Regions from separate parts of the Homo sapiens genome. Here region 2 is linked to region 1. Evidence: promoter capture Hi-C in 16 types of primary human blood cells and fetal thymus (Javierre and others, 2016). All regions are on one chromosome and are shown on one strand. The core of a region is centred on a gene start or on the middle of the fragment in contact, and the rest is flanking DNA. Distances in the headings are between cores, read along the strand shown.

Evidence for each region. Contacts are between HindIII fragments. The CHiCAGO score rates a contact against its expected background, and 5 or more counts as called.
Region 2: a fragment that was not itself captured here is called in contact with the fragment with the promoter of ZNF396 in region 1 in 1 of 17 cell types (total B cells); the score reaches 6.5 in total B cells.

What each region holds. Positions count from the first base shown.
Region 1 is chr18:35,375,833-35,378,959 of GRCh38, reverse strand. It overlaps ZNF396 (zinc finger protein 396), which reads left to right and starts at 1,623. Exons shown (of 4, transcript NM_001322286.2): 1 at 1,623-1,682. RefSeq lists silencers at 1,838-1,907, 1,918-2,107. The HindIII fragment of the contact is 6,702 bases long and covers 265-3,127 here.
Region 2 is chr18:36,292,868-36,295,994 of GRCh38, reverse strand. No RefSeq gene overlaps it. Among named protein-coding and RNA genes, the nearest start is that of FHOD3, 3.3 kb to the left of the region's middle. The HindIII fragment of the contact is 2,627 bases long and covers 317-2,943 here.

The DNA.
Region 1 (3,127 bases), core at 374-2,873:
CTACTGGGACCTTATTCCTGCTAATTTCTTTTCACTTTACCCCCAAAATTTTTAAAAAATTAAAACAGCAAACAAAAACCTGTTCTTGCTCTAACTACCTGACTGTGAAACTTTTCTAATCAATCTTTTATGTCTGCTCCCTTTTTTGTTGTTGCTGTTTTTAACTTTGGCCTCTGATATCTGGCTGTTTGGTGGACCATACCCATGAATTCATCATCCCTGACCTCTTGCCACATCCCACAGTTCCTCCTTCTCCTTGAAGCTTCTGACTGTCGTTCATATTCTCCTTAAATTGTCTCCTGTGACTTCACACCACTGCCAAGCCTTGCCCTCGTTTCAAATTCTCCCCTGACGTGAGTCATTTAACCTACCCTACCCACCAGCGCCAGAAACACATTCCCACCTGCACTTTTGGGCTGTTTGCTATTTGTGTTGGCAGCTGCATCAGCAAAAAGTCTTATCCTGTGAAAGCCCCTTGTTTGAAGCAAGAATTTCTTCAGATTTAGTTTTACTGTACTCTAATTGGGATCCAAACCTCTCCCTAGTCCCCTAGCGTCATAAACTGAGTAAACCAGCCTCTTCTTTCTTCACTTCAGATTCCAGTACTAACATACTTTTGGGGCGGCGTCATACCAAAAGGGATTTTTTGTTATTGTTCTTTATTAATTAGCAAGTGCTTTTCAAGCATCTCCGTCCTCTCCCTAATTCCTCAGTTACGAGTACAAGTACATTTTCCAGGAGTCCCTAGGGAAAGGGGCTAGAGAAGGAAGTCACGAGGTGGGGCTGTGGTGCATTTAGGCTTAAATTTATTTATTTATTTATTTTTTGAGACGCTCTCACTTTGCAGCCCAGGCTGGAGGGCAGTGGCGCAATCATGGCTAACTGCAGTCTCCACCTCCCCAGATTGAGGTGATCCTCACCCCTCAGCCTCCCAAGAAGCGGGGACTACAGGCATGCGTCTCTACACTCGGCTAATTTCTGTATGTTTTGTAGAGATGCGGTTTAGCCATGTTGGCCAGGCTGGTCTCGAACTCCTTGGCTCATGTGATCTGCCCATCTCGACCTCCCAAAGTGCTGGGATTACAGGCATGAGCCACCGCGCCCGGCCTCAAACTTATTTTTCAATTGAGATTAAGATTATCTGAGGAGAGATATGTGTATGTATTGTAACAAATTTTATGTGGGTCAGTTCTCACTTTTTCAAGGGCCATTGTGTTCTCCTGTGAAAGCATGGGGTTGCGGATGTCAAACTTGTCCCTTAAAACGTCAGTACTTGGGGTGTAACCACTTCGGGAGTGGGAATGGTATTAGGGATTGTACTCAGCGGTAGACAGCACAGCATTCGCCCCTCTCTGTAATCCTTGGCAAGTCACAGGACATTTGAGTTTATTTTCTGTAAAATGGGAATAACCTTACTGAGTTACCGGAGTAAATGAATAATGTAAGCAAAAGCACTTTGCGAAGCAACAATGCTAGTTTATTGAACGGAACACTGAGCAGAGCAGCTGGATTCCCACCGGTCGAGCCTCCCGGTTCTCTTTCCCTGTCCCAAGTGCGCGGCCACAGCGGCTCTTCTCCATGGCAACGTCCCCGCGTTCCGGGCCCCGCCCCGACCCGCCACCAGAACCGGAAGTTGTTGCGCAGCTGGCAGTTCCCCGGTTTCTCCCCGACGGCGTCGGGAGGTGAGACCCGAGGCCTCTTTAGGGCCCCCAGGCTGCGGTCAGAGGCGGTGGTCCCCGGGTGGTGGAAGGGGGACGCGGAGAGGCGGCCGCGGACTCGTCGCCACCCCTCCCTTCGCGCGCAAGTGCAGCACCCTTACACCGTCCCAGATCCCCAGGCCCCTCCCCTCCGCTGCCTGCCCCTGAGTCCGCGCACCCCTTCCCCTCGTCCTTCCCCGGCGGACCCCGGGCGCCTGCCCTGCCAGGTGAACCCGCGCCACCTGCCGCTTCGCCCCGGCGGTTCCCAGCCTGGGAGGCGCGCGGCGCGGCGCGGTGGGCGCGGGAGGTCGGGAGATGGTCGGAAGCCAGCCCTCCCAGAGCCGGCCCACCACAGCAGGGTAGAGCCGAGAGCGGCGTCCCCTGCAGAAAGACCCCTGCGTCCCAGGCTTTGATCGAAGCCTCCCCTCCAGGGACGTTCTTTCTGGTTGTCGTGCGGTGTCGGGGGTTCCTTACCCTCACCTCAGGTTTAGCACAGATTCTGCGCCTGGTGCTGAAGTGACAGGGCGGCCACTCTCTTCCAGAGGCTGCTTTAGCCCCGGGGTCCCTCATATATCCCTTAGGGTACCTGACGGCTCCAAACCGGTGGCCTCAACCCTTCCCACCTCTCAGGTCTTGTTCCCCAGACTCTTCTGGCCCCGCTTCATCTGGGAGCGCGGCTGCCTGCCGCCACTTCCTCCTCTGCGCTGAGACAACGCGCAGGGGTCACCACAAGGGCCCCTGCTGCCTATGGCCTCTAACCACACAGCACCATGGATAAATGTGGACGGCCTGGGTTCAGACCCCAGCTTTGCCCTTGGCCAGAGTACCTGGCTTTGCTGTGACTGCTTCCCCGTCTACAACATGGGGGTAAAAATAATCTAGGGCTTTTATGAGGATTTAACCTTTGTTTATTTTTACTAAGGTGTTCAAAACAGTGCTTGGCACATAGTAAATTCTGTTAATATGTGTGTCTGCTATTGTTTGTTTCATAGCACATCATTGTGTAAAGTTGTATCATTTATTTGGTAACAACTTTATGAACTCACAGGCTTTATACAGGGCCTAGAACAATACTTGGTGAAGTGAGAAAATAAGTCAAATGGCAGGATACATAACGATGGAAGACGGAGGCGCACGTAAGATTTTTAAAGTAGTCATCATTTGCTGAAGTTGTACAAACACTATCATATACCTCCTGCCCAATTTAAAAAATATGATTAGACCGGGTGCAGAGCCTCACGCCTGTACTCCCAGCATTTTGGGAGGCCGAGGCAGAGGGATCACCTGAGGTCAGGAGTTCGAGACCAGCCTGGCCAACATGGTGAAACCCCGTCTCTACTAAAATTATAAAAATTAGCCGGGCGTGGTGGTACACGTCTGCAATCCCAGCTACTTGGGAGGCTGAGGCAGGAGAATCGCTTGAACCCAGA
Region 2 (3,127 bases), core at 381-2,880, 920 kb before region 1:
CAGAATACTAAACGCACGAATTCTTCCCCTCTGAGATGGGCCGCCTGCACTTCCACCTTCACGTCCACCTCCCTCCTCACTGAGAGAGCCCTCCAGTCCTGGCCACCTCATTTCCTATCACTTTTCCAACCCGGATCCCAGCCCATCCTCTCAGGGGCCTCCTCTCCACACCCCTCCTTCAGTCCCACCTGTCCTTTGGGTACCTGGCTTGCTTCTGCCCCATCTACCAAGTGCCTGCTGCTAGTGGGACCACTCAGTGCCCCACTTCCACCCCAAAGCCCCTCAGCCTCTTACTCCACTGATGCTGCTGCAAGCTTCTGCCCCTTTCCTCGACTCAGAAATTAGTCAATAAGGTAAATAATTTCTCCAGAATGACTTCTAGCACCCTCTCCTCTTCATCTTTCATCTTATTTTCCATCTCCTCTCCATCTTCCATCTCCCACTTCTCAGAAGGTGACCAAAGTCATACTTTTCCTCCCATTCAAGGCTCTGCCCCCACCTGGACCCTGGGTCCCTTTCATCCCACTTGCTCTTGCCTGGGGCTCTATCACTGATCCACTCACTTCCACCTTCCTCCCCTGGCCCCTTACCCTGAGAACCAGGGCCTGCTTCCTGATGTGCAACTCTTGAAGCCACACAGGGCTCTGCACTTTAAAGGGTCCCAAATTGGTTTAATGTTTAGCTGTTGTTGTCTTGAATTTTTTAAATACTTTTTTAAGGAGTCCCGGCATTTTAGTTGTGCACTGGGCCCCATAAGTTATGTACTCAATCCTAATGAGAATAAATACTCAAGTGTTTTCCATCTTAAAAGCTGCATCTTTATGAAGCCCACTTCTCACTCTAGCTCCCTGGCTTATCTCATCATCACTTCCTAACCAACTTCTGAGAGAGAGCCATATTCATTTCTTAGCATCCTCATCACCTTTTCTCCATACCCCATGACATCTGGAAGGAAACCCCTTCCTGCCATTCTAAGATCATCAATGCCAGCCTAATTTTCTTACCTGGAGGACACCTTGGCCCTGCTACCCACTTTCTTGGCAGCATCTGTCACCATGGCACCATGGAAGATTCTTTTCTCAGACTCTTACCCCCTCAGCTCAATAGCTCTACCCACTGTAGGTTCTCCTCCTCCTTTGACAGCTCCTTCTCAAGTCTTTCTGGGCTTCATCCTCCTCTTGGTCCTGTTCACATTTCCTCTAGATTTTCCTGGCTTCAACCGTCCTCAACCTGCATGCATCCAACTCTATACTCACAGAGGAGTCCCTCTCCTCCCTTCTAGGCTCTGATTTTCACTGGGCAACTAAACATCCCTATCCTGGTTACCACATCATACTCAATTACACATTCAACCCAACACCCCAACCTGGCTGCCCATCCAGAAACTCTTCCACAAGGTTGCCGTCTGCCAGACTGCTTTACCTGCCTGTCTGCTGATTCCAATGCTCTCCAAGCCCTTGGAGCATAGAACACCAGAGCTATGGTTACTGTTAATTTATTGTCTGTGTTGTCACTAAAGAAAAAGCTCCTCTGGGCAACAACCATGCCATATTCAACTCTACGCCTACCACAGAGAAGACACACAATAAATGTCTAATGAATGTATCAACATCAAAGTCATCTTTGACTCCTGCATCTTGCGTTGGTCACTATGACTTGTTACTGAATCAGCCTCTAAAATATTTCTCAATTCTTCCCTTCTCTCTAGCCCTCACTTTCTATGCTAGTCTTCTAATGACTTCCCCAGACTTGCATCCTGCATTTGGTCTTCCACTGGCTTCCCCAGAGCCAGTGATCATTCTAAGATGTGTGTTTGACATATTACACCACAGGGTAAAATCCTTACATTCCAAACCCCTTAGCACAACTCACAAAGCCCTCTAAGACCTGCCTCAGTCTACCACTCCAGGCATATGGTTGGTCATTCCCAGCTTCACAGCCTGCTTTCAAGCCATGCCAAACTTATTACTCTTTCCCAGACATGCTGAGCTTTCTCATGGTGAGCATCTAAACCTAGAATGCTCTTGCCTATCTAGTCAGTCAGCTGAACCCACTTATCCTTCAATTCTCATTTCTAATGTCAACTCTTCTGGAGAGACATCTCCAACTCTACCCCAAACAAGGATTGTCTGTCTTTCTTCTGTGGTCTCAAATTACATATGCCCTTACTGTAGCACTTTTCATGTTACATTGTAAATGTATGCTTGTATATGCCTACTCCACTAACTATAAGATTTTCAGGATTGGAATTTGCCTTATTAAATTTTAATCTGAAAACTTCAGTGACTGGCACCTAAAATGAAACCTTCAGACTTTTTAATTATATAGGCTATCCTTAATTCTTTTAAGGATTTTTGCCTTGGCAAAAATTTACTAATTACTAATATTTTTTCCTCTAACAGCCAATTTTTTTCTCAGCCTAATTTTTAAATTATTTCTTTTTAGTAATGTAATGATTTATCTTAATTTAAAAGGCCAAGAGTAATAAAAAGTTATAACAAGATATCAGAAACAGACATCTGACCCTAGTTTACAACACCCCTTCTTAACATACACACTTTCCAGAGCCACTCGTTTCTAAATAGTGTGAGTACACTGCTGTACTTTGAGCTATCAATTTTAGATAATACACTGACCTTCTGTCATGCGGAGGGTTTTAGCTTCTTTATAGTCCATTTCCTTTTCCAATATTGTTCTGTCACAATGTTAGTCAAATTCTTATGCAGTGATTTTAAAATTTATGATGTTAATATTGTTCCTGTCTGTGCCAAGTTGTGTACAGGATTACATGCCCTTTCTTGTACAACTTTTTGTTTTTCCTCAAGTTAATGTTTGCCTCAATTTTTTTCATTTGATTATTATTTTTTCTTGAACAGCTGGCTAAATCATCTCATATCCTGCAACAGTCCTACAAATGCCTCTCTCAATATTGTCAAATAAGCTTTCAGTTCTATTCCATCCTCCTGCTCCAATTTGAAATGTGGCTCCCTCAGCCCTATCCTCCTGGATATTTTCTTGACTTTTCTCTTCTGCAGGTGCCCCTGGTTCCCAGCTCACTTATCTTATTATTTCTTAGTTTACACTCGCATTTTTTGTTAGTACATACTACAGTAGCTTTCTGAGAAAG